Linked DNA regions of Homo sapiens: all the other regions are linked to region 1. The links are contacts of gene promoters, found by promoter capture Hi-C in blood cells and fetal thymus (Javierre and others, 2016). All regions are on one chromosome and are shown on one strand. The core of a region is centred on a gene start or on the middle of the fragment in contact, and the rest is flanking DNA. Distances in the headings are between cores, read along the strand shown. Region 1 holds the start of ECM1 (extracellular matrix protein 1). Region 2 overlaps HORMAD1 (HORMA domain containing 1). Region 3 overlaps GOLPH3L (golgi phosphoprotein 3 like). Region 4 overlaps GOLPH3L (golgi phosphoprotein 3 like). Region 5 overlaps GOLPH3L (golgi phosphoprotein 3 like).

The links. Contacts are between HindIII fragments. The CHiCAGO score rates a contact against its expected background, and 5 or more counts as called.
Region 2: a fragment that was not itself captured here is called in contact with the fragment with the promoter of ECM1 in region 1 in 1 of 17 cell types (neutrophils); the score reaches 5.5 in neutrophils.
Region 3: a fragment that was not itself captured here is called in contact with the fragment with the promoter of ECM1 in region 1 in 1 of 17 cell types (neutrophils); the score reaches 7.6 in neutrophils.
Region 4: a contact is called between a fragment that was not itself captured here and the fragment with the promoter of ECM1 in region 1, in 1 of 17 cell types (neutrophils). The highest score is 6.6, in neutrophils.
Region 5: a fragment that was not itself captured here is called in contact with the fragment with the promoter of ECM1 in region 1 in 1 of 17 cell types (neutrophils); the score reaches 5.1 in neutrophils.

The regions. Positions count from the first base shown.
Region 1 is chr1:150,505,620-150,509,460 of GRCh38, reverse strand. ECM1 (extracellular matrix protein 1) reads right to left here and starts at 1,352. Exons shown (of 10, transcript NM_004425.4): 1 at 1,182-1,352. The coding sequence starts at 1,251. TARS2 (threonyl-tRNA synthetase 2, mitochondrial) reads right to left here. Exons shown (of 18, transcript NM_025150.5): 17 at 3,756-3,841; 18 at 1,859-2,545. The coding sequence ends at 2,397. The HindIII fragment of the contact is 8,833 bases long and covers 1,332-3,841 here.
Region 2 is chr1:150,707,880-150,711,720 of GRCh38, reverse strand. It overlaps HORMAD1 (HORMA domain containing 1), which reads left to right. Exons shown (of 15, transcript NM_032132.5): 7 at 150-176; 8 at 2,760-2,827; 9 at 3,314-3,465. Among named protein-coding and RNA genes, the nearest start is that of HORMAD1, 11 kb to the left of the region's middle. The HindIII fragment of the contact is 3,217 bases long and covers 411-3,627 here.
Region 3 is chr1:150,688,061-150,691,901 of GRCh38, reverse strand. The region is part of intron 2 of GOLPH3L (golgi phosphoprotein 3 like); the gene reads left to right. Among named protein-coding and RNA genes, the nearest start is that of GOLPH3L, 7.2 kb to the left of the region's middle. The HindIII fragment of the contact is 1,769 bases long and covers 921-2,689 here.
Region 4 is chr1:150,668,343-150,672,183 of GRCh38, reverse strand. The region is part of intron 2 of GOLPH3L (golgi phosphoprotein 3 like); the gene reads left to right. Among named protein-coding and RNA genes, the nearest start is that of GOLPH3L, 27 kb to the left of the region's middle. The HindIII fragment of the contact is 5,826 bases long and covers 1-3,841 here.
Region 5 is chr1:150,649,246-150,653,086 of GRCh38, reverse strand. All of the region lies in intron 4 of GOLPH3L (golgi phosphoprotein 3 like), which reads left to right. Among named protein-coding and RNA genes, the nearest start is that of ENSA, 22 kb to the right of the region's middle. The HindIII fragment of the contact is 2,275 bases long and covers 983-3,257 here.

The sequences.
Region 1 (3,841 bases), core at 103-2,602:
GCTGTGGAGATCAAGAGTGTAGGACAGACAAGCAAGACACGAGATGCCCCTCTGTATTCACCTGCCCCGTGTCCCCTAATCCTCTCCCAGCCCCAACACACCTAGACATGACCAGCTGGGTTCTGAGAAAGCCTGTGGCGGTCTGATAGCTCCACCTCTACTGGCTCAGAGGTTGGGCCTAAAGGGAGTATGGCATACGGGATTGGGGAGGGAGGCCCTCATTTCCTCTGCCAGTCTTTCCCTCAGGGCTGTGGGTTGTCCTCCCCAGTCTCTGCTGGGATGCGTCTCTAGCTTTCAGAGGAAAAAGTCTGGACCTTGAGCTGGTTGGAGCCTACCCAATCCACCTCCTCCACCCACCCTCCTACTCCAGGCCCTTGAAACATCTTTAGGCCTTTGGTTAAGGAGGCTTCCTGAAGGTTGAGTGCTTCCCCTTCAGCCAGTCTCAGCTCCGCCTTAGTTTAGGTCTCAATTTAGGGCCTGGGGGACTGGGACAGGCACAGGGAAGGGTCACTTGTAGGTGATCTGCAGACACAAAAGACCAGGAGCTGGGAAGAATGATGGCATGGGGCTTCACAGAGAAGTGGACAGATTTGCTGACATCCTCAGCAGCTTCCTGCAGGAGTGCCCTGGGTGGTTTTTTTCCTTTTCTTTTCCTTTTTTTCTTAGTTTCCACCCATAGCATTGAGGGGTTCCTGTTTTGTTCAGGCATCAAAGCAGATAAAGAATGTGTTTGTGCTGGATGGAGGGTGGGTCTGTGGATGGACACCCCTCAACTCCTCTAATCAGACAGGGAGTCAGTCGAGGCTTGCTGGGCCAGCAATCCGGTTTTGAGCAGCCTGGGGGCCCCTTTTCCCTCCCTTGCCTCTCCCACCAGCCACCTCCCTACATCCTCATCAGCAGGAGACCCTCACTCTGTGAACCCACCCCCCACTCAGTTGTCTATTTGACTGGGATTCTGTGTTTCTTGGCAGCAGTTTCTAGGAACCCCTCTCCTTCTGTGCCCCTGCTCTCTGCCTCCTTGGTTAAAGGCTCCACTGGCCTAGGCCCACTTTGGGCCTGCTCAGAAAAGGAAAGCCAAACGGAGAATCACTCTGCTAGTGATGAGCCGTCTGGGATGCCTGGACCCAGACCCCTGCCATGCAAGCCCAGACCCCCTCCTAAGTGCTGATCCCCCAACTCACCTCCCTCAGAGGCAGCAGAAGCAACAGCCAAATAGGTCAAGACCAAGGCTGCTCTGGCTGTGGTCCCCATCCTGGGGCAACTGACCACTGGACACTCAGAGGTGGGTCCTCTCAGGCAAGTCTGGATGTGAAGGGCCGGCCACTGAAGCTTGTCTGGTGGCTGTTACGGTTGTGAGCTTCAGGACCAGCTCTTCTTTTATAATTGTCTGGTGTGATCTCCCGCCCTCCTCAGCTTCCTGCCATGACTCAGTCCCAGCTGCTCCTCCTCTGGAAGCCACTCCTCCCAAAGTCACCCTGAAGCCTCCTCAGAGGATTGAGAAGAATGGGACTGATTAGAGGAGAACATTCTTATGACCTTCAAGAGAAACTGATTCAGAGAATCCAGGAGCAAGAGGTGTTTGAGCCCCTAGTTTGTGCCTCAGTTTCTCCATCTACAGGCTGCCTTCTGTGGAGAGGGGATCTGCCAACTCATGAACTGGGGTTGGGGAAACAGGGCACAAAGGAGTTTACAGCGGGGAGCAGGAAACCTATCCAAGGGATCTCCCCTACCAGTGTGAGGTCTGGACTGTCCCTTTTCAATTTCCCTAACTCTCTGGGACAAAAAAGAGGGAGACAAAGTGGAACATCCTTTTATCCCACCTCTCCAGAGTCAGAGATGAAGACATATGACCAGCAGCTTCCAGTTTGTATTTATTTATTTATTTATTTATTTAGAGACAGAGTCTCGCTCTGTCGCCTAGGGGGGTGCAGTGGCGCAATCTCAGCTCACTGCAACCTCTACCTCCCGGGTTCAAGCGATTCTCCTGCCTCAGCCTCCTGAGTAGCTGGGATTACAGGCGTGTGCCACCATGCCCGGCTAATTTTTTGTATTTTTAGTAGAGACAGGGTTTCACCGTGTTAGCCAGGGTGGTCTTGATCTCCTGACCTCATGATCCGTCCGCCTCAGCCTCCCAGAGTGCTGGGATTACAGGCATGAGCCACTGCGCCTGGCCCAATTTATTTTTTTTTGTAGTTTCATTCTCCTCACATCCAAACAGCTACAGCTTCCCTCCTTTTGTGGGGTCCCCAAACCAAGTCTCTTTTCAGGAGAGCAGACATGTGCCTCCACACAGTTCTGAAGTTCTGGGGGCTCCACATTGTCAGCTGGGTTGGGGTCTCCCATGTGAGGGAGGCTGATGGCACTCGCAGGTTTTTGCCTCATCTATGTACAAAGGCTCAGAAAATTTCTTCGGCATTTGGGACCCTCGTGTTCTGTAGCTCCACCAGTCGCTGCACAGCCTCAGGCAAGTCCCACTCCCCAAGGCGACGATTATCTCGAGTCCGAATGTTCACTGTTCTCTTACTTTGCTCTTTCTGGCCAACCACTGCAGGTAGAGGAAGTTTGGGAACCTCAGGGCAAATTCACCCACATGGAACAGTTTCTTTTGCTCTGCAGAAACTTGAGAGACCTAAATCTTTAGGAAGGGTGGGAGCAGAGCCCAGATATGGTTCACAGAAAGGAAGTATTCAGCTGTGTCTGCTAATACTAAATGACCAGTCCTGCTCATCCTGAGGAGACAAGGAAGTGCTTCAGTCCCCGCAGGCCTTATCGCTTCTGGTCAAGAGCCCCAGGGTCAGAGACATAAGAGTCAAGCAGAGAAAGACAAACACTGAGAACCCCACAGAGAGAAACTGTGTGTGTGTGTGTGTGTGTGTGTGTGTGTGTCAGAGACATTAGAGTCAAGCAGAGAAAGACAAACAATGAGAACCCCACAGAGAGAAACTGTGTGTGTGTGTGTGTGTGTGTGTGTGTGCGCGCGCGTGTCTGAAGGGGGTATTAGAGCAAGTGGAAGGTGGCAGGAGTGGTGTGGCCTTCACACTGCCCCGCCTCCCCCCAACCACTCTGACCCTTAGAACAGTTTCCTCTCATCAGTCCCACTCTGGCTCTTGGTGTCTGTTAGGGCTGGATTCACAGAGTGAGGGGCCTCTGCTGAGGAGGATGTATGCAGGGGCTGACTGGGCGGTAAGGGAGGGAAAGGGGCCATGTACAAGTCCCTGGGATTGCAGCACAGCTTGCTCTGGGTGCTTGTAGGGAGAGTGGGGTGTGCAAAACTCAAGAATCAGGTAATCTGGCTGAGGAGTTTCTGCTCCTCACCTTTGAGATAGAGCCCTGAACCCTGGAAAATGAAAAAGGGAGCATGGCAGTGCCAGAATTTTCTCCCTAAGGCCTTTCTCCTCATCCCTTAGGGCTGATTCCATCTAGGTCTAAAATAAACAAGGGTAATTAACGCTGTATTAACCCTCCCGTCCCTTTCTCTCTGATGCTCCCTTGGTTAATTAACCTAACAGACACCAACAGCTAGAGTGGAGTTAAAAAGAGGAAAACTATTTTGAGTGTCAGAAGTGGTTATGGGGAGGGCAGGGCAATGTGAAGGAACACAGGGCCCAAATGAGTCAGGTGTCCTGAATCCTGGCTCCTACCTGCTCAGGTAATGAGCCCCAATTAACCCAAATATGCATTACCAGACTTGGTAAACTTAACAGCAAGAATGCAGACGGCAGGTGGGAGAACATTGGCTCTGAGGTTCAGCTTACCAAACTGAAAATTGTAGTGGGCAAGCTGGGCCCGGCGGATTCTCCGGCTGAGGGTCAGTCCAGAGTCTGCATCCAGGTCACTGACC
Region 2 (3,841 bases), core at 770-3,269, 200 kb before region 1:
TCTATTCAATGGAATGAAAAAGTAATATTTTGGGTGGTCATTTTTATTTGTTTGTTTTGCTGAGTTCACATGAAGTTTAGTCTAAACATCTAATTTAGTTCTTGAATACTTAGCCTTAGATAACTCAATTGTAAATTGTTTTTAAATAGGTATACACAAACCCAGAAGATCCTCAGGTAAGTGTGCTTGAGTTACTAAAGAAACATAATGCCTCTAATATCTAAAAATAACACGAAACATAATATAAGAATATCTTATGCTTTTAATTATGCTTTAATCAATATACTTTCATATATATTTTCACATTTGAGCTTCATAAAACTCTTCTGAGGTAAGGCAGGGCTTGGATTGTTACCTTTAAACAGATTAGCATGACAGAGATTATGTGACTGATCTTAGGCCACAAAGCTTACAAACTGTTAGAAACTTAACTTAAATCTCCTGACGTCTAATTCTTTATAGTATTTTTTATACTACATTTTAGAATTATGAAAGGGCTTGAGTTTTAGGAAAGTAAGAAAGTCATCCTTAAACTTCGAATATTCATCCCAATCCATTCATAGCTACCTATTTATCTTACCATTAAAGGAGAGAAGGGAGAACGTGAAAGGGAAAACCAGAAGATAAGAAACAAGGGGGAAAGATCTACTGAGTGCTTACTTTATATTAGGCTCTGTTCTTTGGGGCTTTATGTGCATTATCTCATTTATTCATCCCAACCTTCATGAGGTAACCACTATTAGCATCTCCGCTTTACAGATGAGGAAATCTAAGTACAAGGGGTTTCTTGCCTAAGGTCATAGTGGCTGAAGTGGCAGAACCAGGTTTTTGAACCTAGGAAGGCCAGTTCACAATTTGGGTGTTTACCCATTACGCTATAGCTGTTACAATATAACGTTTCATTCAGTCAAGGAGAGGTAGATTTAAACTGGTGTTAAAAATAGACGTTTAAAAACATCACTATGTAAGCAATGAAATATAAAGAAAGCAATAGAAGTATTCAGGCTTCAGGAGGGCTGAGAATGTGTCTTTTCTTTGATACTCACACCTGCGATTAATGCTTAATATGTATCCATGCTGACAAAGCAGATCATTTGGGTAAAGGCTGTGAATTAATAGATTGTGTTCAGAAAACTAATTGATTGTTCAGAAAATGTTCATTTATTTTCATATGTTATATAGTTGTGCATTTTTTCTATCAGTAAATTAGCAACCTTGTTGATACAATAATAATATTTATTGAATGTTTACTATATGTCAGGTACTTTATAAAGTACCCTGTATAAATTATCCCATTTGTGAATATTTATTCACAACTATCAATGAGATATGTACTGTCTTTAATCTCTTTTTTAGCTGGGGAAACTAATACTTAAACTAAGGCTTAAGTGGCTTGCCTGTGGTTACAGTATAGCAAAGATTTATGCCCTGTGTTAGCCACTCTGCTGAGGTATGTTGCCTCCCTTATCTGCCTGCTAAGGAGTTCCTTCCATGTGGTATAAATAACTGAAGGGGTGGCCTGCCCCTCCACACCTGTGGGTATTTCTAGTCGGGTGGGACGAGAGACTGAGAAAAGAAATAAGACACAGAGACAAAGTATAGAGAAACAATAGTAGGCCCAGGGGACCGGCGCTCAGCATACCAAGGACCTGCACCGGCGCCGGTCTCTGAGTTCCCTCAGTTTTTATTGATTATTATCTTCATTATTTTAGTAAAAAGGAATGTAGTAGGAGGGCAGGGTGATAATAAGGAGAAGGTCAGCAACAAACATGTGAGCAATAGAATCTATGTCATAATTAAGTTCAAGGGAAGGTACTATGACTGGACGTACACGTAAGCCAGATTTGTTTCTCACCACCCAAACATCTCAGTGGAGTAAAGAATAACAAGGCAGCATTGCTGCAAACATGTCTCGCCTCCCACCATAGGGCGGTTTTTGTCCTATCTCAGAATTGAACAAATGTACAATCGGGTTTTATACCGAGACATTCAGTTCCCAGGGGCAGGCAGGAGACAGTGGCCTTCCTCTATCTCAACTGCAAGAGGCTTTCCTCTTTTACTAATCCACCTCAGCACAGACCTTTTATGGGTGTCGGGCTGGGGGACGGTCAGGTCTTTCTCATCCCACAAGGCCATATTTCAGACTATCACATGGGGAGAAACCTTGGACAATACCCCGCTTTCAAGGGCAGAGGTCCCTGCGGCTTTCCGCAATGCATTGTGCCCCTGGTTTATTGAGACTAGAGAATGGCGATGACTTTTACTAAGTATACTGCTTGTAAACATTTTGTTAACAAGGCACGTCCTGCACAGCCCTAGATCCCTTAAACCTTGATTTCATACAACATATGTTTCTGTGAGCTCCAGATTGGATCAAAGTGGTTGGGTCAAAGTGGCTGGGGCAAAGCTACAAATTAACAACATCTCAGCAAAGCAATTATTTAAAGTACAAGTCTTTTTCAAAATGGAGTCTCTTATGTCTTCCCTTTCTACATAGACACAGTAACAGTCTGATCTCTCTTTTCCCTACAATAACATACATTACAATGAGTTGGGAAATAAATGTCTCTCCAAGACTGAAGCCCCAAACCCAAACCATGAAAACTGACTATGAGGAATCAAAAGTTTCAATGGATCAATAGGGATTAATATGGCAGAAAAAAGTATTGACTAAATGTTGAGTCATACAAAACAGAATATAGCTATTTAGCAGCTAGTACTGAATATCAGAAGCATAACTGCGATATTTTCTATTTAAGACAATTTCAGAATGTTACCAATTCAAATTCAAATACACCAATAATGGACCACTCATGGACTTCATAAGGTATTGTTCTATAGTTTTCTGTTTGTATTACAGATTACCACTTATTCATATTAATGCTATATAGCTAAACCTCAGGATTCATTCTGAAACTGCGGGGACATCCCCAATTAACCATCAAGATGTGGCTATGCAAAATGGAGTGGTGGCTTGCAGTAGCTTCAAGCCAGGATTCTGTGGCTAATAATAAGCAATTTTAATTGTGGAAAGAGAACTTAGGTGATTAGAAATATAGAAATATAATTTTAAAACATAATGTGCTTTCTTTAAACACTTCATATAAAATGCACTTAAGTAAAATTAAGTTATTATTTCTAGCAGATATTAATATTAAAATTTTATAATAGTGACATTAAAACACATGGTAACTTTCAAGTTAACAGCTTAATGCTATAATAGAAATAAGAATCTCAAATAGTTAAAATGTAAAGTTATGATATTAGAAGCCACAGGTTTTATAAAATAAATTAATATGTGATTCTCTTCTAGTAAAAACCAAAGCAACGAATCTAGCATGTTGTCTACTGACACCAAGAAAGCAAGCATTCTCCTCATTCGCAAGATTTATATCCTAATGCAAAATCTGGGGCCTTTACCTAATGATGTTTGTTTGACCATGAAACTTTTTTACTATGATGAAGGTACTATTTGCAATACATCCTGTTTCAGTTGGTACATATGTTTTATCATTATTGAAACAATTGGTTTCCATTCCAAATATTTTTAGCACCTAAATTTTTTGAAATTATAAAATTTACACTTAATATCACTATTCAAGAAAGAAAGATTTACAAAATTAAGCTTTAAAATAGATGCTTCTCTAGTGATAGGAACATATCCATGTGAAGTATAACCTCACTCAAATTTAACAATGAGTTAACAGTTTTCACTTATCAGATTGGTAAAACGTGTTAATCCATTATTGATAAGGATGTGGGGAAACAGGAACTTTTTTTTGTTTGAGACAGAGTCTTGCTCTGTCTCCCAGGCTGGAGTGCAGTGGCATAATCTCAGCTC
Region 3 (3,841 bases), core at 556-3,055, 180 kb before region 1:
CATCCATTTGTTTAAATGAGTATAAATATGTTTTCTATACAGAATGAAAATGAACATTGTTATACAACATGTATATTTCTCACATTATGTTCAATAAAAAAAGCCAAACACAAAAATATACATACTGTATGATTCCATTTATATGAAACTCAAAAAACTATTGTATTTGAGGTTGCATATTTAGGTGGTACAATTATAAACAAAATCAAGCCAGGAATTACTATAGTTTTTAGAATAGTGATTATCTTTTTGTAAGGGATAGGGGAAGGAAAAGGGTGTTAGTAATTAGGAAGGAAAATGGAGAGGATTTCTAGATAGTAACAATTTTCTGTTTCTGGACCTAGAGGAAGTTTCATAGTTTTGTTTTTGTTTTTGTTTTTGTTTTTAAGACAGAGTCTTGCTCTGTCACCCAGGTTGGAGTATAGTGGCACCATCTTGGCTCACTGCAACCTGCGCCTCCCGAGTTCAAGCAATTCTCCTGTCTCAATCTCCTGAGTAGCTGGGATTACAGGCACCCGCCACCATGCCTGGCTAATTTTTGTATTTTTAGTAGAGATGGGGTTTCACCATATTGGTCAGGCTGGTCTTGAACTCCTGACCTCTCAGGCGACCCACCCAACTTGGCCTCCCAAAGTGCTGGGATTATAGGTGTGGCCTCCCAAAGTGCTGGGATTACAGGCGTAAACTACTGCTCCCGGCCTTTTTTATTTATTTATTTATTTTTGATACGGAGTCTTGCTCTGTCCCTCCTGGCTAATTTTTGTATTCTTAGTAGGGAAGGGTTTTCAGCATGTTAGCCAGGCTAGTCTTGAACTCCTGATCTCAAGTGATCCACCTGCCTTGGCCTCCCAAAGTGCTGGGATTACAAGCGTGAGCCACTGCACCTGGGCCATAGATCTTCACTTTGGAATAATTAAGCTTTTTACTTTGTTTTGTTTATTCTTCTGTGTGTACATTATATTTCACAATGCAAAATATTTTTTTTAAAGTAAACAACAATAAAAAGCAAGTTTTTGCATGTTAGAATGAGCCAAGGGAGTTAGAGAGAGGAGAAACCATCATGAGATAGAGTAATCCGGGGAAGAATAGAAAAAGGCAGTAAAACAAGCCATGCCTTTAAAAATGGGAGGATTAACATGAATGGAGAAAAGGAAACACGTTCTGGATGAGGGAACCTGAGTGAGCAAAGGTATCATGAGCTTGATGAGTTTGGGAGATAACTGTGAGTAGGCCAGTATGACTGAAGTAGGTGGAGAACAATGGGATTCAAAATCAGTAAATTCGATTTGGACCAGATTATAGATTTTGTTACCAGGCAGAGACTTTTAGACTCTTTCCTTTAGGGAAAAGAGAATCAGCCTAATGAAAACAGCAAAGCCCATTTCATTTTTGTGTCCAAATTAAGGGCTTAATAACATTTTTATGTTCTTTGTGAGTATGTTTTAATGTGTATATAATTGCTTGTTTTTACATGGTTTGGGATTTGTGACAAGTCAAAAAAGGAAAAAATCCTAAATGTTAAATTTTGTGTCCCAAACTCCCAAACTTTTACTGGAGAGTTCCCTAAGATCCTCTGTTTAGAACCCAGTATTATCATTTTTTTAGAAACTATGTGTCTTTCAAGCAGGCACGGTGGCTCCTGTCTGTAATCCCAGCACTTTGGGAGACAGAAGGATTGCCTGAGGCCAGGAATTCTAGACCAACCTGGGCAACATAGTGAGACCTCATCTCTACAAAAAATATAAAAATTAGCCTGGCATGGTGTCACATACCTGCAGTTTCAGCTACTTGGGAGATTGAGGCGAGAGGATTGCTTGAGCCCAGGAGTTCAAGGCTGGAGTGAGCTGTGTTTGTGCCACTGTACTCCAACCTGGGTGACAGAGTGAGACCCTGTCTTAAAAGAAAAAAAAAAATTCTTCTGAGGGGTAACTACCACAGACTGGTTTTAAAATATTAAGCATCTGGCCAGACGCAGTGGCTCACATCTATAATCCCAGCACTTTGGGAGGTTTGAGGCGGGCAAATCACTTGAGGCCAGGAGTTCGAGACCAGCCTGGCCAACATGGTGAAACCCCATCTCTACTAAAGGAAAAAAAAAATTAGCTGGGTGTGGTGGCATGCACCTGTAATCCTAGCTATGCTGATGGGAGAATCTCTTGAACCCAAGAGGCAGAGGCTGCAATGAGCCAAGGTCACACTACTGCACTCTAGCCTGGGTGACAGAGTAAGACTGCCTCAAAAAATATAAACTAATTAAATTAAATATTAAGTATCATTGTCTTATGAAAACAATCAAGAAATTTAAATATAATTTGAAGAGTATAACCTTTCAAGCACAGTTAAAATTAGATACTATCTCAGTTCAATAACACTGACCTCAACTGAGAAAGTAAACATTGAGCACAAGCCTGACCAAAATAAAATAGGTTTATCTCCTGTTGAAATCAGGAATCTGCTTATTTGTTATTATTGCCTTTGGTAAGAGTTTTGATATAGATTATTAACTCATGAACAGTGTTTTAATTGACTTGCTAATGTATAAAACTTTTCATTTATTAGAATCGTTTCTTAAGTTACCTGTAAGGGGAGTAAGCCAATTACTGCTTTTGACTCCTAGTGGTCTTTTCATTTCTCATCTATTTAATTTGTGGATAATGTTTTTCAACCATCCTCTCTTTCTTGGAAAGCTTTCTCCTAGTAATGCCATTTATTGAATACTTACTACTTACTGTGAAAGAAAAGCTTTTCATCATATTTCTCATGTCACTGTGGTAAAAATTGGCAAGAAGTATTATCCATTGGAAATATGGCAATACATTTTCACTTATTTGTTTAATCACCAAAAATTTTATTGAATGACTCATATGTCATAGAAAGAGAGAACAAAAACAATTGTCCCTGCTTTTGAGGTCAATTTATGGTTTAGTGGCATAGGGATGGTTGGAGATGCTGGGAGTAGAAGCCAGAAAGTCAGCAGACCATTTCAGAACAATGTGATATGTGTATAAGTGTGTTCTGAGTAGGAAGGAAACACAGAGGAAAAGCACGTAAATCAGATGGGTGGTGGGAAGGAGCAGTAGGAGAGGGAAGAAGAGATGTTGGGAAAGACTTACAGGAGGTGATAACTCTTTTTTTTGTTGTTTGTTTGTTTGAGATAGAATCTCATTCTGTCACCCAGGCTGCAAAGCAGTGGCGTGATCTTGGCTCACTGCAACCTCCACCTCCCGGATTCAAGCGATTCTGCTTCCTCAGCCTCCCAAGTAGCTGGTATTACATGCACCTGCCACCATCCCCGGCTAATTTTTGTATTTTTGTAGAGACGGGGTTTCACCATGTTGGCCAGGCTGGTCTTGAATTCCTGACCTCAGGTGATCCAACTGCCTTGGCCTCCCAAAGTGCTGGGATTACAGGTGTGAGCCACTGCGCCCCGCCAGGAGGTAATAACTCTTAACTGGAATAAGAGTGAGTTAGTCTGTAAAGAGACAGGTTCTAGGAAAAAAGAACATCAACTGGATGTTCCTAATAATTTCAGTGATGTGCAACTGGAATAACCACAGATGTCTGAAAGCATCCCATCTCCTTTTAATGAACTCCAGTGTTTTAAAACTGAAGTATGAGAGCTGAACATCCAGTTACATGCTTTATTGTTTAAGTTTTCTAAAATTGTGAAATACAGTGTATCCAGAAAATTGTATAAAGCACATATATACAGTTTAACAAGTAGTTTGAAAGCCAACAGTCATGTAATCACCAATAGAACAATATCAGCATCCTGGAAGGCTTCTCTTATGCCTGCCCCTAATCACATGCTGCCCACTTCCCTGTAGTTTTGACATGTATG
Region 4 (3,841 bases), core at 736-3,235, 160 kb before region 1:
GGAATTGGGCAGATATAAAAGGGTTCAAAGCAACATGATAACATTTCTTCTCTCATGGAAGGTGAAGCAATTTTAATGTTAAATCTTCAGACTTGGGGAGATGGAGGGGTTCTTTTTTTCTGAAAATTTTCCTTTAAAAAGTGATATTTTCTCACTGTAGATAATTTGGAAAGGTTAAAAAGCCATGTTTTAATGTAGACATTATTTTATATCATTGTAATAATCCTGGATACTCAATTATATATCTGGCTATTTTTCATTCAACTTTATCACAAGTATTTTCTAATGTTATTTTAAAAACTCCTTATGAGCATATTTTTTAATGATGCTTTAAGTTGTTTTGTTTTCTTTCCTCTTTTTTTTTTTTTTTTTTTTTTGAGACGGAGTTTTGCTCTCGTTGTCCAGGTTGGAGTGCAGTGGTGCGATCTCGGCTCACTGCAACCTCCGCCTCCCAGGTTCAAGCGATTCTCCTTGTCTCAGCCTCCCGAATAGCTGGGATTACAGGCATGCGGCACCACACCCGGCTAATTTTGTATTTTTAGTAGAGACAGTGTTTCACCATGTTGGCCAGGCTGGTCTCAAACTCTGACCTTAGGTGATCCGCCCGCCTTGGCCTCCCAAAGTGCTGGGATTACAGGCGTGAGCCACCGCGCCCGGCCCTTCTTTCCTCTTTTTTTGCCAAGCAGGCAACTTTTAAGATCTTTAACCTTCAGAGTTGTTTTAAGGTGTGTCTTCAAGGAAGTTTGAATAAGGAAGGGCACTTTGAATACTTGACTAAGTGGAAATTCAGCATAAAGTGTTGACTGTCTGAATTTATTGAATTCCCATTGTGCAATCTTTAAAGTTTAAATATGTGTAATATTTGACCCAGAATTTTCTTCTAGATATTCAACAGAAATACACACACAAATGAATACGTCTTTACTTTTTTTTTTTTTTCTTGAGATGGAGTCTTACTCTGCCGCCCAGGCTGGAGTGCAGTGGCACGAACTCACCTCCCTGCAGCCTCTGCCTCCTGGATTCATAGGATTCTCCTGCCTCACCCTCCTGAGTAGCTGGGATTACAGGCACGGGCCACCATGCCCGGCTAATTTTTTTGTATTTTTAGTGGAGACTGGGTTTCACCATGTTGGCCAGGCTGGTCTCAAACTCCTGACCTCAGGTGATCCACCCACCATGGCCTCCCAAAGTGCTGGGATTACAGGCTTGAGCCACCACACCCAGCCAACATTTTTTAATAATAACAAAATACTGTAAGCAACCTAAATGCACATCAGTAAGGGGCTTGGATAGATAAAATTATAATGCATGTAAAATGCAATACTATGCAGTCATTACAAGGGATGAAGAAGTATATTTACTGATGTGGAATGATACCCAGAATAATGGGTTAATGAAAAAAGTTACCACTCAGTGTAATGCCATTTCTAGAAATAATATTAATAAGTGTAAACATAGAATATGTATATAAAAATCTAGAAAAGTACCCATTAAACTGTTGGTAGTGATCCTCTAGAGGGGATAAGATTCTAGAACACTTTCACTTTCTAAAGTCTACATTTCTTTTTATTTATTTATTTATTTTTTGAGACAGAGTCTTGCTCTGTAGCCCAGGCTGGAGTGCAGTGGCACAATCTCGGCTCACTGCAAGCTCCGCCTCCTGGGTTCATGCCATTCTCCTGCCTCAGCCTCCCAAGTAGCTGGGACTACAGGCACCCGCCACCACGCCCGGCTAATTTTTTGTATTTTTAGTAGAGACGGGGTTTCACCGTGTTAGCCAGGATGGTCTCGATCTCCTGACCTCATGATCCACTCGCCTCAGCCTCCCAAAGTGCTGGGATTACAGGCGTGAGCCACCACACCCAGCCTAAAGTATACATTTCTATAATGGGATTTTTCTTTCTTTTTTACAATTTTTTTTGAGATGGAGTTTCAATCTTGTCGCCCAGGCTGGAGTGCAGTGGTGAGATCTCAGCTCACTGCAACCTCCACCTCTGGGGTTCAAGCAATTCTTCTGCCTCAGCTTCCTGAGTGGCTGGGATTACAGGCGTCTACCACCACACCTGGCCAATTTTTATATTTTTTAGTAGAAACGGGGTTTCACCATGTTGGCCAGGCTGGTCTTGAACTGCTGACCTCAGGCTATCCACCCACGTCAGCCTCCCAAAATGCTGGGATTACAGTCCTGAGCGACCACGCCGGGCCTGCAGTTTTTTTTTTTGAGACGGAGTTTTGCTCTTGTTGCCCAGGATGGAGTGCAGTGGTGTGATCTCAGCTAACTGCAACCTCCACCTCCCAGGTTCAAGTGATTATCCTGCCTCAGCCTCCTGAGTAGCTGGGATTACAGGCACGTGCCACCACACCCAGCTAATTTTTGTATTTTTAGTAGAGACAGGGTTTCATCATGTTGGCCAGGCTGGTCTCGAACTCCTAACCTCAGGTGATCCACCCGCCTTGACCTCCCAAAGTGCAGGGATTACAGGTGTGAGCCACCGCGCCCGGCCTACAGATGTATATTAAAGTCCACTATCTGAATATCTTATTCTGCAAATTCTCTGAGATTCTCCATTAGCCATGAGACAATGTGCAATTCCATCTGTGTTGGGTAGGTCCTAAAATTTTCTTTAGATAGCCTTTGGTAATGAGATTTAATGATCAAATGGTGAACTTTAGTATGTACGTGCTAGGTCTTCCTGCTCAGACATACCAAAGCATTGGCCATTTAATATAGAATCTTTATTATGAATGGCTGGAGAATTCACTAAGTTAGATAGATACACTAAGAGGAAAATGACCTTTAAATATAAATAATTGTATTTTCCCTTACCTCCAGGCTATTCTGCACCTAAATTTGTTTCAATCTGTTCTAAATATTACTATAGATGACAATATTATAATCTTTATTGGTCATATGTACCCACAGTACAGGGGAACATTTACTATCATGTTCTCTCTTTTCTCAGTTATTTTCTTTTTCTAAATCCAGTCTCTTTCTTGTAGTTATACAGGTGTTTGTTTTATAATTATTTTCTTAAAACTCTACATATATGTTTTTATACTTTTGTCTATTATTGCATATTCTTAATAAAAAAGTTAAAAACTCGTTTGGAAAGTTTTGTATGTTTTGAGATGCTACAATAGGAAAGTGTGACATTCAAAAATGTAGTTTCTTTATCCTGATCTTCATCATTTCTTTATACTGCTTCTCATTTATAGTTTTGTTGACAATCTGATGTCACTGTCACTGAAACAGAAGTTACATGGTCAGGAGGAAATGAGACAACAAAAGAAAACTTTCTTCCAGTTGCTTTAATATTGGCTAAAATGTTTGCACACCTGTTAAGATTTATTACGAGAATAAATAATGCCTACATAATTACGTGTTCTGAAGGAAGTTATAGTTTAACTTTAATTAGGTAGCTAAACTATAAAAAAAAACAAGTGTTAACCTAAAAAAAAAGCCTACCCCTTCCTTAAAGAGGAGTCACAAATATGAGTTGGGGCCAGGCACAGTGGCTCACACCTGTAATTTTAGTACTTCAGGAGGCTGAGGTGGGCATACCACTTGAGCTGAGGAGTTCGAGACCAGCCTGGGCAACATGGCAAAACCCCATCTCTACTAAAAATACAAATATTAGCTGGGTGTGGTGGCACGCGCCTGTAGTCCCAACTACTTGGGAGGCTGAGGTGAGAGGATTGCTTGAACCAGGGAGGTGGAGGTTGCAGTGAGATGAGATCATGCCACTGCACCCCAGCCTGGGCGACAGAGCGATACCCTGTGTCCAAACAAAAACAAAACCAAAAAAACAAATATGACTTGGAGTAGCCATGAGGCAGGCAG
Region 5 (3,841 bases), core at 871-3,370, 140 kb before region 1:
TCTTAAACTGCTGGGCTCAAGCAATCTGCCCACCTTGGCATCCCAAAGTTCTGGGATTACAGGCATGGGCCCACCATGCCAATATTGTTACACGTATTACATCTCTATGTGTTACAAATTCAACAATTCATTGTTGTAATTATTAAAGAAGAGAAGAAAGCACAAATATATACTTATAGAGTTTGTTATATTAACCTCCTTATTTACCATTTCTGGTTTTCTTCATTTCTTCCTGTGGATTCAAGTTACCATCTGTTGTCATTTTCCTTACTTCAACACAACTTTTTTCCCACCCTCTTTCTTTGTGCTATTATTACATTTCTATGTGTTATAACCTTGCGCAAAAGTTTAAAAAGTTAAAAATTATAACTCAACAATAACAATTATATAAATATTGTTTTGTGCAATTGCTTTATAAATCAGTTGAGATGAAGTATCCAATTATACCATCTTTTTTATTACTTACATAATTACTTTTACTGTTTGTTCACGTGGATTCAAATTACTGTCTAGTGTGTCCTGCTCTCAGCCTTAACAACTTCCCTTTAGTTTTAGTATTAATATTTCTTATAAGCAGGTCTGCTAGCAGTGAACTCTTTCAGATCTAGGAATGTATTTATTTTTTCTCCTTTTTAGAAATTTTTCTTTGCCTTCATTTTTGTTTTGTTTTTTTTAGGGTTTTTTTTTTTTTTTTTTTTTTTTTTTTGAGACAGAGTCTCACTCTGTCACCCAGTCTGGAGTGCGGTGGCACGATCTCAGCTCAATGCAACCTCCACTTCCTGGGTTCAAGTGATTCTCCTGCCTCAGCCTCCTGAGTAGCTGGGACTACAAGTGCATGCCACCACACCTGCTTTGCTTTTATTTCTGAAAGATAGTTTGCCAGTTATAAGATTCTTGGCTAATAGTTTCTACCCTCACTTTGAATAAGTCTACTCATTCTTCTGGCCTGCATTTTTTCTAATGGGAAGTCAGTTATTAAGCTTACAAAGTTCCACTGTGATGTGATAAGTCATTTTTCTCTTCTGCTTTCATGATTTTCCACTTATTTTTGGTTTTCAACATTTTTACTATGATGTTGGATATGGGTCTCTTTGTGTTCATCCAACTTGGAGTTTGTTGAACTTCTCCAATGTGTGGTTGAGTGTTTTTCATCACGTTTGGCAAGATTTTAGCCATTACTTTCTTGAGTATTTTTTCTGCCTCTTTCTCTCCTTTCCTTCTGGTGCTTCCATTTTATGTATGTTCATCAAGTTGATGATACTTTATATTTCTCTGAGTCTGTTCATTTTTCTTCATTCTCTTTTCTCCTTGTTCTTCATATTACATAATTTCTTTGATCTCTAAGTTTGCTAATTCTTTATTTTGCCAGCTCAGATCTCTTGTTGGATCCCTTGAGTGATTTTTTCATTTTGTTTGTTGTACTTTTTTTTTTTTTTTTTTTTTTGAGTTTCGCTCTGTCGCTGAGGCTGGAGTGTAATGGTGTGATCTTGGCTCATTGCAACCTCCGCCTCCTGGGTTCAAGTGATTCTCCTGCCTCAGCCTCCTGAGTAGCTGGAACTACAGGCACACACCACCATACCCGGCTAATTTTGTATTTTTAGTAGAGACAGGGTTTCACCATATTGGCCAGGCTGGTCTCAAACTCCTGGCTTCAAGTAATCCGCCTGCCTCAGCCTCCCAAAGTGCTGGGATTACAGACGTGAGCCACCATGCCCAGTCTGTTGTACTTTTAAACTCTAGGATTTCTAAATGGTTTTTTTGTTTTTGTTTTTTTGAGATGGAGTCTTGCTTTGTTGCCCAGGCTGGAGTGCAGTGGCACTATCTCAGCTCATTGCAGCCTCCACCTCCCAGGTTCAAGCGATTCTCTGCCTCAGCCTCCTGAGCAGCTGGGATTACAGGTGCCCACCATACCTGGCTAATTTTTGTATTTTTAGTAGAGATGGCGTTTCGCCATGTTGGCCAGGCTTGTCTTGAACTCCTGGCCTCAAATGATCCACCCACCTCAGCCTCTCAAAATGCTGGGATTACAGGCGTGAGCCACCGCACCTGGTCTAAATGGATCTTTTTTATAATTTCTGTCTTTATTTATATTCTCTATATGATAAGTCATGGTTTCCCTTAGGTCTTTGAACATATTTATAAAAGCTGCTTTATAGTCTTTGTAAAGTCCAACATTTTAGCGTTCTCAAAGGCAGTTTCCATTGCCTGCTTTTTTTCTTCTGAATGGGTCAATGGGTCACAATTTATTCTTTGTATACTTCATACTTTTTTGTCAAAAACTGGACATTTTAGATAATTGTGCAACTCTGGATACTACACTGCAGCTGTCCCCAACTTTTCTGGCACCAGGACAGGTTTCGTGGAAGACAGTTTTTCCACTGGGGTGGGAGACGGGGGGATGGTTTCGGTATGATTCAAGTGCATTGCATTTATTAGAGTCTCACAAGGAACATGCAACCTAGATCCCTCCCATGTGCAGTTCACAATAGGGTTCACACTCCTGTGGGAACCTAATGCCACTGCTGATCTGATGGGAGGCAGAGCTCAACTTTACTCACCCATGGCTCACCTCCTGCTGTGCAGCCGGGTTCCTAACAGGCTGCAGACCAGTACCAGTCCATGGTCCAGGGGTTGGGGACACCTGCTATACTGGTTTCTCCTTCCCACTAGAGGTTGATTGTGTTGTTTGCTTGGTAATTTGTTTCCTTAGTGACTTGCCTGCAGCAGCTCTCTGAAGTCTGTTTCTCTTGTAGTGTGCAGCCTCTGATGTCACTGCTCATATTTTCTTGTTTTTATCTTTTGGCCTAACTCCCTGTGTGTTGCCAGTGGGTCAGTAGAAGCCACTTATTAGTCAAAGGTTGTGCTTAAGACCTTTTAGCCAATTAAATTTTTTTATCCTTTACTGTTGGATATGTGTGTGTGATTTTGACATAGCCATCACAAATCAGGGAGTTTACATTTTGCCCCACATTCAGTGAGGAACTAGCAGCTTGGAAGTTCCCTCTCTGATTTCTTCTCGGAGAGAGTACATCCTTGGACATACACCAGGGATGTATGTGATTTTTTTAATTTTATTTTTATTTTTTATTTTTCATTTCTTGAGATGAAGTCTCACTCTGTCACTCAGGCTGGAGTGCAGTGGTACAATCTCAGCTGACTGAAACCTCCGCCTCCTGGGTTTTCCTGCCTAAGCCTCCAAGTAGCTGGGACTACAGGCGTGTACCACCACACCCGGCTATTATTATTATTTTTAAGCTTAGCTTTCTAGGAGTTGCCTCTGAGTTAGGGTAGCTTATTGTTCAGCCAGTGTTGGTTCAGTGGTTGTGCTTTAGCCCTTGGTGCCAGTGAAGCATCCACCCTTTTTTGATAGATCTATGTGTGGTCTGGGGAATACTCTCAAGTCAAGCCCCACGTCCTGCTCTGATTGCTCCTGAGTGGGTGCAGCCTGGTGCAAGCACACAGTCTTCCCAACCCCCAGTGTTGGTCATGATTCCAGAAGGACTTTTCTTGGCTTTCTGTTTCTCTGGTTCTGCCTGTTAAACTTCTGGAGGCTTTGCCATTTGGGTTTGTCATACCAGTGCCATAGAGCTAGCAGCACCTTGTAATTGCTCTCCACCAAGATCTCTATGGTTTTCAACACCCTTAGGCATAGAATTCTCCACACTGTGTTCCAAATAAAGTCAGTCCTCTCAGGCAGAGCTTTGGAGCTCTTCATTCTTCAGGCCTTCCTTCCCTCCTGGGCAGAACTTCTGCACAAGGGCCCACTTCTCCTACAGTGATACCCACCTGCTGTATGAGTAGGTGCTGGGGGAAAGAGGTGTTAGCCCCTGGTCTTCTTGAC